Regions from separate parts of the Homo sapiens genome. Here region 2 is linked to region 1. The links are contacts of gene promoters, found by promoter capture Hi-C in blood cells and fetal thymus (Javierre and others, 2016). All regions are on one chromosome and are shown on one strand. The core of a region is centred on a gene start or on the middle of the fragment in contact, and the rest is flanking DNA. Distances in the headings are between cores, read along the strand shown.

What was found. Contacts are between HindIII fragments. The CHiCAGO score rates a contact against its expected background, and 5 or more counts as called.
Region 2: a fragment that was not itself captured here is called in contact with the fragment with the promoter of SALL4 in region 1 in 1 of 17 cell types (erythroblasts); the score reaches 6.0 in erythroblasts.

The regions. Positions count from the first base shown.
Region 1 is chr20:51,798,775-51,804,719 of GRCh38, reverse strand. SALL4 (spalt like transcription factor 4) reads left to right here and starts at 2,199. Exons shown (of 4, transcript NM_020436.5): 1 at 2,199-2,441. The coding sequence starts at 2,312. RefSeq lists enhancers at 1,853-2,494, 3,138-3,780, 4,296-4,345, 4,493-5,416. The HindIII fragment of the contact is 4,794 bases long and covers 1-4,206 here.
Region 2 is chr20:52,085,996-52,091,940 of GRCh38, reverse strand. All of the region lies in intron 2 of LOC105372664 (a long non-coding RNA gene), which reads right to left. It also overlaps a transcript of ZFP64 not described here. Among named protein-coding and RNA genes, the nearest start is that of ZFP64, 100 kb to the left of the region's middle. The HindIII fragment of the contact is 2,497 bases long and covers 1,741-4,237 here.

The DNA of each region.
Region 1 (5,945 bases), core at 950-3,449:
ACTTTAAATTTAGTTTACTGTACTCCGATTTTTCTTCTTTAGCTATCTTCTCTATATTCAGCTATAGTTGGAAGACAGGTATTAGGATGTGATAGAATTTTGGAGTCAGACTTAGAAACTGACCACCGGCTTAGAAACTGACCACCAGCTCAGCCAGTTTCTAATTAAGTCACTTCATGTCTTTGAGCCTCAGTTTCAAAATGGAGAGGACAATAGGGCCAACCTCCATGGGAAGATAAAACAAGGCGGTGTGCATTCATTTAATGCAGTCTGTGGCATGTACAAGGGGCTCAATCAATTATTATTATTACTATCACTTGGAGAGTCAAGCGGCACAATTTTGTCTCGTAGTAAGGCTAACATGTTACAACTATCATCTACTAAAATAAATATAAACAACTATATAAATGAAATTTTCCTTAACCCAATAGTATTTTTTGAGCCATAAACCCACTGCACATTCGTTTAGATTTGTAAGTTAGATCTCCTGCCACACTATCTTACACAGAAAAGGTGTTGAGAATATTAGTAGATTAGTCAGCAAGGCAGGTGCTAATTGGCCTTTTTACTCAGTATCAGAATTCTAAACTGCTTCTATGTATTATTAAACCAAATTCTTACCTTTTCAATCTGGCTGTTGGCTATAATTCTGTCTTACTTGCTTTAAATATTATACATAAAATAAGGCAAGACTTTTTCAGAGACTCAAAAATTGAAGGTTAATCTTCCTTCAACAAGTTTTTACTGATGGCCACGAATATAAAAAAGATGATCAAGCTGATTTATTTTCTGCCTTGGGTTGTCCAAATACCCAGGTGAACACATTGATGAGCCCAGCATTCCATTTTGCTTGTATTCCTGATGAGTTTACAAGCTGGGAACGTGATGAATAACTAATCAAGAGAATGCAATGCACAAATGTGGAGGGAGGGTTTATATCTGCACAGTCCCTTACAATGAAGTAAATGCCAAACAAAGACGCATGCCCAGAGCAGTTATGGAAAGACCAATCAAAGACTTAGCAGGTTGATGATTTCATCATTCATTTAACATTTATTGAGCATGTACATTGTGTAAAGCAGTTAGCCAAATTAAGTATACATGAATTTACGGTATAAATGTGTATACATGTAATATATCATATACACACACACAAGCCCCACTTTAAAAAATTCCAGGCATCATGTGTCAATGATACAATCACTTTGAACGATACACCTTTTCTGTAATAATGTGTGTATTGCACAAAAAAATTCCAATAGTGATTAGTAACAACCAGATACTGTGACAGTGCCCCATTGCCATTCCATGGGAGATGCAAGAGCATTGTCTCAGTAATAAAATATGATGTTATCAGGCATTTATGGCTCCTGGGGAAAAAAATGCAATTGCTTGCTGTTTTGATATTATCTCTGACTATGCTTGCTTATCATTTGCCATTTCTATATTTAGTAGCCAGTCATTTTGAAGTTAAAAAAAAATCAAGGTTTGCATTGTAACCACAAACCAGTCTTTGTGAACAGGAATCCTGGAGGCTATTAATCAGCTTTTAAAGGAGGTAAGTCATGGTGGTGGTGGGGTATCTGAAATTTTGGAAGTTCCGAGCTCACTTTAAGAGTTGAGATGGGTGGGAGGGCTGAAAACACCACCATTCATCATTCTTCAGTTATCTCGAGACTCAACTTAAACATTTTTAATCAAAAAGATGGGAGGGGACACGGGTCACATCTCAGGTTTGGGGGAATGTGTGTGCGTGTAGATGTGAAAACTGAGCCAAAATATTCCACTGTGAAGAGATCTCCCTTCTCGGCTGGTGGACATCAACCTTACCAAGTAATCTTTGGAGCAAGTAACTACCAAATAAAGCCGTTCCAAAACTTCTACGTAAGCTCCTACTTTTTAATGAGTACGCATTTCTCCCCATTTTCTTTTCCTCTCCAAGGACTGAGATAGCTGGAGCAAGGATGGGTCCCCCTCTGATTTCGTCCCCGCCCCAGCCAATCTGAGCCCGGATGCTAATTAGCTGCGCTCCCCTGATGAACACGCCTTTGTCACAAGTAGGCCCGGACTACAAAGCCCAGAATGCCTCACCCCTCCCTGATCAATGAGGGCTTATTTAAATGATCTCTGAGGTCTTGGACCCAGGCCAATCAGCTGTCAGGGCTCATGATAAATCGCAATGCATTATTGATAATAATAATTACTGGGACATGCGCGTTCCGGCCGAAGGGGGGTAAATTTCCCAACTCCAGGAATTTGTGGCGGAGAGGGCAAATAACTGCGGCTCTCCCGGCGCCCCGATGCTCGCACCATGTCGAGGCGCAAGCAGGCGAAACCCCAGCACATCAACTCGGAGGAGGACCAGGGCGAGCAGCAGCCGCAGCAGCAGACCCCGGAGTTTGCAGATGCGGCCCCAGCGGCGCCCGCGGCGGGGGAGCTGGGTGAGTGGGGCTGGGGCGCCCGCCCGGGGAGGGGAGCTTCCCGGACGTACGCGGGATCCTCGAGGGCGCAGGCTTCGGGGAGCGGGCGGCGTCCAGCGCAAATTCAGGAGCCGAGATTTGGGGGCTCAGTGCCCGGGAGGAGAGGTCTCCTCCTCTCCCCACCACCCCGCCTTTTGCACATTTCACACTTTTTTCCTCTTCTCCCCTCTTGTGTAAGTTTCACCCCCAGCTTTCTCCCCTAATTGTAAAATTGACCCCCACTCGCTCCTCTGTTCTCGCTCCCGAAAGGTTCCCTTCTCCTTGTCCTCTGCCCCTCACTTAATTGGTTCCACTCCCCTCACTGGTGTTACCCCCCCCCCTTGTAACTTAGGTCCCCCTCCCTCGCGTCGCTCTCAAAAGAAAGAACCCCGGGGGATCCCCACCCTCTCCACCAGCCCCTTGGGGCTTTTCTTGGAGGCTGGAGGAGGGGCGCACCCCTGGAAGACCCCCCGGAGGAGGACGATCTGTTGCACGCGCCCCTCCCGGGCCAAGTGGGGGGAGGGGGCGCGACCTCTCCCCACCCTCAGGAGCTGGGGTGCGGGCCACCCGCGCTGCGCAGGGGATTGGAGGGCCCAGAGAGGTGGGGGAGGAGGGCTCAATGTTTCCCTTTAAAATTTTTTTCTTTTCTGGATTTCGCCTTTTCTGCCCGGGCTGCGCCGCCTGCCGATCTTCGCCCTAACCTTTCGGGGCCTGACCTCCAGCCATCTTTGATTTCCGACTTCCTAAAAATAACCGCGGCAAGCCCGAGGGTGCGAGCCCCCAGTGGCCGGGGTGGCGGGCGCGCGGCAGCCCCACTGGGGTGCACCGGCCTCCCGTTTTGCGTGGCTTTTCTGGAGCGCTCGGCTTTCCACATTTGCGCTTGGGTGTGAAAGGGGAGAGGTGGGGGGCCAGAGCGAACTCCCGCGGCTGACCTGGCCCACGCTTCCGCGGCCAGCGTTTCCCAGATCGAGGGGAGTTCGGGACCCCAGCCGCGCCAGGAACGGCGGGGCCAACTCTGTTCCCACTTCATCACTTCACCGCGGAGGTTTTAGGAGCGAGGCGGTTTTCCACTATCTCGTCTCCATCCCGGCCCGCCAAATTGTCGCCTGATAAGTTTTTAGCGTGCGCGTGGGGGGAGGGGGGATTTGTAGCCTCCTCTCCGGCCTTGTTCGTCGCTCCGCTCCCCGCCTGCTTTCTAATTTCCCTGCAGCAGACGGGTGTGCGCGGCAACCCCGGAGGACTCTCAGAGACCATCTCTGATACCCGGGGTTTCCCGAGAAGACGGTCGCCACTTTTTGGCTTCCGTATCCCCGCCTTTTTGTCGGAGACTGAATGTAATACATTTCCCAAGTTTATAATACGTCAATAGAATTCCCCGTTTAACATTTTTCCAGGGCAAATTAAAAGGATCGGCTTGACGGAGGGGATGGCTGGGCGTTTTCGGGGCGCCGGGTGGTCAGCGCAGCGCGCACCCGAGGTCCCAGGCGCCTGGAGGGACTCTCTTTGTGCCTTGGTTGGGGGCGGGGTGGGGTGGGGGTTGAGGGGAGCGTGAAGGCTTCGTGGCCTGGCCCACCTGGAACAAAAGGGTTAACCCTCAGCCCGCCTGCTTCCTCCGGAGAGGAGGGGCGAGCTCCTGGTTCTGACCCCTCCCCTGGTCCTACGCTGACCTCCCCTTCCCCCTTCATTTTGGGTGGGCGCACACACGTGGGGCTTTTGGTGGTGTTTGGCACCTTTCGGGAGGGAAGCTTGTTACGAGAGGGCTTCTGAAATTAACGATGGTTGGAGTTTGGAATCAGAGTCAACCTGAGCTGAGCTAAAACCTCGGGCCTGGCCGTGCGCTGCCACTGCGATTTGGGAGGGAGGGGAGTTGGCTATTGATCACCAGGGTTGTCGCGGACAGCCCACCCGGCTTGCGCGCGGGCGCCCCCTGGAGGCCCAGCTTGAAGCCTAGCCCTTTGCTGGGAGGCGGGGTCCCTTCGCAGGTACTGGCTCACACCTGGTGGGTGGGACGGGTTGTGGGGGTGAATGGAGAGTGCTGGGCTGGGCCAAGGATGGGTACCCTAGGGGATTCGTGCCGGTCGCCTGCTTGATCGTCGTCTGTGCCCGCTGTTCTTTGCCAAGTGTGGAATTCTTGGTAATAACTCCTGGCGGCTAGAATGTGTTTGCAGAGCCTCCAATTGCCTCCTTGGGAGAGAAGGTTGTTTTCCCAAGCAGTGCGTTTTTAATGGCTGCGTTTGGGTTGTTTGCATTTGAGCTGCCTAAAATTATATGTGTTAGGTATATAATGTAGACATACATATCTAACTTAGATGTATGTATATGTCTCACATAATTTTTTAGAATGCAGATTGAGCTGGTCTTATTTTGCAAAGCCATTCGAGAATGCAGTTTTTGAGGGAGGAAAATGACGTCTGGCGATCAATTAGCAGATCAAAAAATCTGCAGGTGGTCGCAGGGCTAACACTACATACAGGAAAAATTAGCATTTTCTCAAAAGAGTTTCAAATGCCCTTTGTGCTAAACTGGATTACAAACATCAACGATTAGGATTCCCAAGTTTCGAATAACTTCCTATTTCCAATTACTCACCAAAATGACCTACGCTGGCTTAGAAGGATTTTGACGTTAGTTAACGTTTCAGGTCAACTTTCTACGTTAGACTTCATGTGGGTTTCCCATAGGGAGAGAAGCTACAATTTGCCAAACAGCTCCTTTTGTTGAATAAAAATGTGCAGTGCAGAAGCAAATGATACTTTGTCATTCGTGCTGCTGTTAGTGAGCTTCCTCCTGGGCTGTGGGTTGGGGAACCATCTTGGGAGGCAGAAGGCAGTTAGCATTTCCTTTTTTAAAATGTGAAGTGTTAGGTTGATGCCTGGGAAGTCAGGTTTTAGAATGGGATCCGCGTTCCACTGTGGCTGTGTGACTTTCAGCTGTGTAACCTTGAAGCCAGCTTGGTGGCGTTTTCTGTTTTTTTGTTTTTTCTGAGTTTTTGGGTTCCTCCTCTATATAGCAGTGATAAAATGCCCTGTTTAGATAATTTCAACTATAGAAGGGCTACTATGAATTGGGAATGTGATCAGTCTTAATTTTGTTCAAAATACCAAAATGTTTTTATTTGTGTTTATTGTGTCAAGATGGTGTTGAGCTGCCAGTTGAGGCAATCTAGCAGAAATGGCAGTGTGCTGCCTGCCAGACACCAGGCTGGGGACTCGAGTGCGCTATCTTTAATTCAAGATATTAAAGACCAAAAGTGATAGTCATGTTTTTACTCATTTTAAATTGCAGCACCTGTTTGAAATGGCTTTGCCCGTGGTGCCTTGCCCTGCTTGATGGCCCATGGTGTCTTGTCCTGCCTCGCCCCAGAGCCCAAGGAACTGTTTTTTTTGTTTTGTTTTGTTTTGTTTTGTTTTGTTTTTATTGGTTTTTTAAAAATAACCTTAGGTCAGTTGGTGATGTGATGAGATGTTCTTTTTGGCATCTTCGACA
Region 2 (5,945 bases), core at 1,740-4,239, 290 kb before region 1:
TTGGCTCACCGCAACCTCCACCTCCTGGGTTCAAGCGATTCTCCTGCCTCAGCTTCCCAAGTAGCTGGGATTACAGGCATGTGCCACCACGTCTAGCTAATTTTTTTGTATTTTTAGTAGAGACGGGGTTTCTCCATGTTGGTCAGGTTGGTCTCGAACTCCCAAGCTCAGGTGATCTGCCTGCCTTGGCTTCCCAAAGTGCTGGGATTACAGACGTGAGCCACCGCGCCCAGCCACGGCCATAGGTTTTGAAATAGGAAACTTATCTGTTTCTGGAGTTTGTAATCTAATTTTGACAAAAACTGTCCTAAAAGACATTCTAAAACTTCCAAGATGACATTTTTGAAAAACCATTTGTGAAGCCATGTTACACTCATAAAAGTTTGACTTTTATCTACATACTGAACTCTCTCATCCATATGAAATTTTTAATGGATTTCACCATGATTTCTATTTTGCCTGATGCTAAAATTGATATTCCTACTTTTTTTAAGCATTTTTCTAGAATTTCTATTGTGTTCCTATCACTTTGATTTAGGTATCTTCAGAGCATTTAGTGGCTTTTTTTCTTAATTTAACTTAAATATATTTTTAACTTTTATTAAAGTAGAGATGAGCTCTCCCTGTGTTGCCCAGGCTGGTCTCAACCTTCCGGCCTCAAGCAATCCTCCTGCCTTGGCCTCCCAGTGTGCTGGGATTACTGGCGTGAGCCACAGCACCTGACCTATAATTTAAATCTTTAAGAGGGAAATGTAATACGTTTTTGTTTATAATATTTACTTTGACATCTAGTTATCTGATATTTGATGTGATTTTTATTTTGTGCTGTTTGGTTTTTTCGTTTCATAGAGACAAGTTCTTGTTCTGCCACCTAGGCTAGAGTGCAGTGGTATGATCAGAGCTCACCTTCTGGGCTCATGTGATCCTCCCACCTGAGCCTCCCAAGTAGCTGGGACTACAAGGGTATACCACCACACGTAGCAAATCCTTTTTTTTTTTTTTTTTTTTTTTTTGGTAGAGTCAGGGTCTCACTGTGTTGCCCAGGCTGGTCTAGAACTTCTGGACTTAAGTGATCCTCTCAAAAGTGTTGGGATTACAGATGTGAGCCATTGTGCCCAACCAAGTCTGTCTCAAAAAAAAAAAAAAAAAAATCTTGCTCTGTCACCCAGGTTGGAGTGCAGTGGCACGATCTCGGCTCACTGCAACCTCCTCCTCCTGGGTTCAAGCCATTCTCCTGCCTCAGCCTCCCCAGTAGTTGGGATTACAGGTGTGCATCACCAAGCCCAGCTAATTTTTGTATTTTTAGTAGAGACAGGATTTCACCATGTTGGCCAGGCTGGTCTCGAACTCCTGACTTCATGATCTGCCCACCTTGGCCCCCCAAAGTGCTGGGATTACAGGTGTGAGCCACCATGCCCAGTCGCCCCAACCAAGTCTTTTGATGGTTGTTTTTCTCTTGTCTGAAAGCTATACTTTTTCCATTGTAGTATTTTCTCATATTGCCATCTTACCTTCACCATCACCCTTATTTTTTTTTCTGGTGTACAGTGTTTAAGTGTGATACCAAGTCATATATCAACTATCTTCTCCTCTCACTGAATGCTAATTCAAGTATAAGATTCTATTAAAACAGTTTCTCTAGAAAGTTGAAGATCCTGTTCCTGTCTTGCTAGCATCCACTGTTCTGAGGAGCTTTATGCTGATGTGAGCATTTTGCTGGTGGTTTTCTTTCTGGAAGCTTCCAGATCTCACCCTTCTTAGGGTTCTGAAATTGGACCACCCTGCTTCTAAATAAGATGCATGGCTGTCTTTAGTGTTGGGAAATAATTCTTCTCAGTTCTATCCTGGACCATCTAGAACGAGCTTTCGTGTCTTACCTTTTGGCGTCTTTTCCCCCTTGTCCTTTTGGGAGATTCTTTAGCTGTATCTTCCATTTCTAAGATTTTTCTTAATAGGTGGCTTTTTCTTTTTGTTTTGTTTTTATAAGAGCAGTTTTAGGTTCACAGCAAAAGTGAACCTAAAGACAAGAAGATACAGATATTTCCCACATGCTCCCTGCTCCTGCGCATGCACAGCCTTCCCCATTACCAACATTACATTTGAATAGTGCATTTTTACCATAGATGAACCTGCACTGACACAACATTCTCAACCAAAGACCATAGTTTACAGTAAGGTTCATTTTTTTTTTTTTTTTTTTGAGACAGTGTCTTGCTCTGTCACCCAGGCTAGAGTGCAGTGGCACGATCTGTGCTCACAACCTCAACCTCCTGGGCTCAGGTGATCTTCCCACCTCTGCCTCCCAAGTAGCTGGAACTACAGGCATGCACCACCACATCCAGCTAATATTTTGTATTTTTTGTGTAAAGACAGGGTTTTGCCATGTTGCCCAGTCTGGTCTCAAACTCCTGGGGTCAAGCGATCCACCCACCTCAGCCCCCCAAAGCACTGGAATTACAGGTGTGAGCCACCGCACCTGGCCAAGGTTCACTCTTGATGTTGTACATTCTGCGGTTGTGGACAAATGTATGATGACCTACATCCACCAATAGCTGTCATTCGACACCCTTTTTGCTGGTCAACTTATTAGAACTTTTATTTTGATTTCCATAGTTTTCATTTCTCTAATTTCATTTCCTCCCTTTGCTTTAGTAACTAAGTTCTTGACTTGGGCGTGTCTTTCTGGTTCTGGCTTTCCCCAAGCATTTGTTTATTGGGTAAACTAATTTTATTTGGATATGATCAGCCTGGAAGGGTTGGGCTAGGGGGTAGTGATGAAACATGGCTGGATGGAAGTGTTCTGGGTATGTGGTCTTCTGCTGTCCCTGGCATCTCTAACTTACCAGGCCCTTGTATTCTTTTTCTGACCTCAGCACCCTTTGACCAACAGCCTAGGGGGAGATGCCGTGCTGCTTGCTGTTTGGAAGAAGTGAGAGGAAGGGGTCCACCTGACCATTCTCCATGTGGTTCATGAAGCTGCCCAAGATCCCTACAGCTGCCACTTCTTATCCTGAGTACTTCTATAACCACTGCCATTTTTCCCAAACAGGGTTTGGCCTGTAATTTTCTCCATCAATCAGATTTTTATGTCATCTTTCCCTTAGGATTTCTGAACTATCAATGAATGATACACATTCTTGTTTCCCAATATGCTGATGTAGACTTCAGTATCTTTCTCTCTCAGTATTTGGACAGGAGGAGGCGGCACACCCATATGCCCAGGCTATCATCTTGGTCAAATCTTTGTAGCCATCTTGACCAAAAAACCTTTAACTTTGACTCCTTATGTGTTTGAAGGAGACAAACCGCACAAGTGTGAGTTCTGTGACAAGTGCTTCAGCCGGAAGGACAACCTGACCATGCACATGCGGTGCCACACCAGTGTGAAGCCACACAAGTGTCACCTGTGTGACTACGCTGCCGTGGACAGCAGTAGCCTCAAGAAGCACCTGCGGATCCACTCTGATGAGCGGCCGTACAAATGCCAGCTCTGCCCCTATGCCAGCCGCAACTCCAGCCAGCTCACCGTCCACCTGCGATCTCACACGGGTGAGTCCCTGACCAGGAAACCTCAATCCCTTACTTTTTCTCTAATTTCTTAACCTTCATTTACTTAACAACACAAGCAACTTAAATGACTTGGTGTGGTAGAAGTACAAGAATTTGGAACTTCTGTGATAATTGTGAGATTTGTCATTTTTCTGTTGCCGGAACAACAACTTTTGGTAAAATATGACTGACAGCTGGGTTTTATATCTTGACTATATAGAATCCAGCTGGGAGTAGATACCCACTATAACTGCCAAGAAGCCAATGATGTATCTCAAGTCAGACCTATAAACTAGATGTTTCAGTAAATGTATACACTGATTGCATGGCTAAATTTGGAATGTAGCAGGATCCATTAAGTATAATTAAAAATCACAAACTTTTAATCTTAGGAACTTCCTTTATGGGACCCTACTGAAATGATAGGACCAACTCATCGTGGCATGGAAAAATGGGGTTTGAGATATTCATAAAGATGCTCATAAGTTGAAAATTTTCAATGAATTCCTGGAAAATGGTGAGCAGACAGGAACATAGTGATGTTTAAAACTGAGTATAGAAAGCTGTGTCCCAGCAGACAAATGGGAGGCAGCTGTACAGTTGGAAGCCAAAGTTTCCAGCCAATATCCAAGGGCCCTGAGGGCTCTGGGCTTGGAACAAGCATGTAGACAGCCAGGGCCACAAAGCTTGGGGGACTAGCCAAGGCCTGGCAAAACTGCCCAACCAACCCAGTAGCAGGTGAAACCTCTGGCATCCATGTCTAATCATTAAACCAGTCTACTTTCCCAAATATAGTCCACCAAGGATCATGAGTCATCTATAGGAAATGAATGGAATAAAATGAGCCAAGTCAATAACTAATCCTGGAAGTAAGAGTACTTGGGTAATTTTCACATTCTAATTGGTGTCTACCCACTGGCAGAAATGTTGCATCCAAATAGAGACCTATGAAGAGATAATGAGAACAAAGAAGTATGAAATAAAACTAGGATTGCTAGCTATAAAATTAATGTCCCAGAGATTACGGGAAAAAAATTGGGTGAGTGAACTGAGAATAAGAGCCAGTCCTGAAGTCTGGTTTCTGACCAGGTCTAGGAAGAAAAGAAAATGGAAGTGAGAAGAAAATAGAGTGAAAATAGAAAATCAAATGAGAAATGAAGTCCACAATTCTAAGGGGCCAGGAGAGTAAAAGTGCTCACAGGATTCCAATCAGGATGGAAGGGAGTGGACAGGGGACATCTATATCTAGAAATATGTCTGGGTAGTATTGGCTTCTAGGAGACAATGGAACAGTGCCCTCAAGAGTTGGGAAATGATTTTGAACTTAGAATTCTATACCCAGCCAAACTATCTCAAGTATGAGAGCAAAATAGAATGATGTGCAAGGACTCAAGATTTTACTCCCAGCCACCATGCTAGTGGGAGTTACTAGAAGATAAACTCTAGCAAAGGAAGGGAGGAAACATCTGGCATGATATATTTGATATGTGAATACCTGAATATGGCTAACTGGGATTGCAGCAAAGAGAAATATCAGGCTGATACTTGTATAGAAAGTCAAGAGAAACTAAATCAGAAGTTTTAAAAATCCATTTTAAAAATTCCTTGTGAAAGGGCCGGGCGCGGTGGCTCAAGCCTGTAATCCCAGCACTTTGGGAGGCTGAGGCAGGCAGATCACGAGGTCAGGAGATCGAAACCATCCTGGCTAACACGGTGAAACCCCGTCTCTACTAAAAATACAAAAAAATTAGCTGGGCGTGGTGGCGGGCACCTGTAGTCCCAGCTACTCGGGAGGCTGAGGCAGGAGAATGGCATGAACCTGGGAGGCGGAGCTTGCAGTGAGCTGAGATTGCGTCACTGCACTCCAGCCTGGGCGACAGAGTGAGACTCTGTATCAAAAAAAAAAAAAAAAATTCCTTGTGAAAGTTACAAAATTATGAGAGTGGATGACTTCTGAAATTGAGATTCCTTCTTTCAAGAAACACAGTCTAATCAAGAAGCAAGTTAAAATGTGCCCCCAAATGAGCAACACGTAAGAAAAGAAAACAAAATTATATTGATGGGTGGTTACGCCATCCACTGGCCTGAGTGTGACAGCAGACTTATAAGGAAGTGATTGTAATCCTGGTGCAGTGTTTGGCTCCGATGAATATCACATTCCCAGTCACCATTTAAATTATTTATAGTTGGCTTCTGAACTTGAAATCTGAAAATGATTAAAGTATAAGAATTCACCAGACAGAATGGAAATATTTTTTTACTTAAAGGTGAAAAGAAAGCTACTTCTAACAAGTGAGGAGTTAAGTGTGGAGAAGAGGAGTGAATCCTCAAAAAATCTCAGAAGCTGATGGACTAAAATGTGAGGCTACTACTCAGCTTAAAAGTGTAAAAGTCAC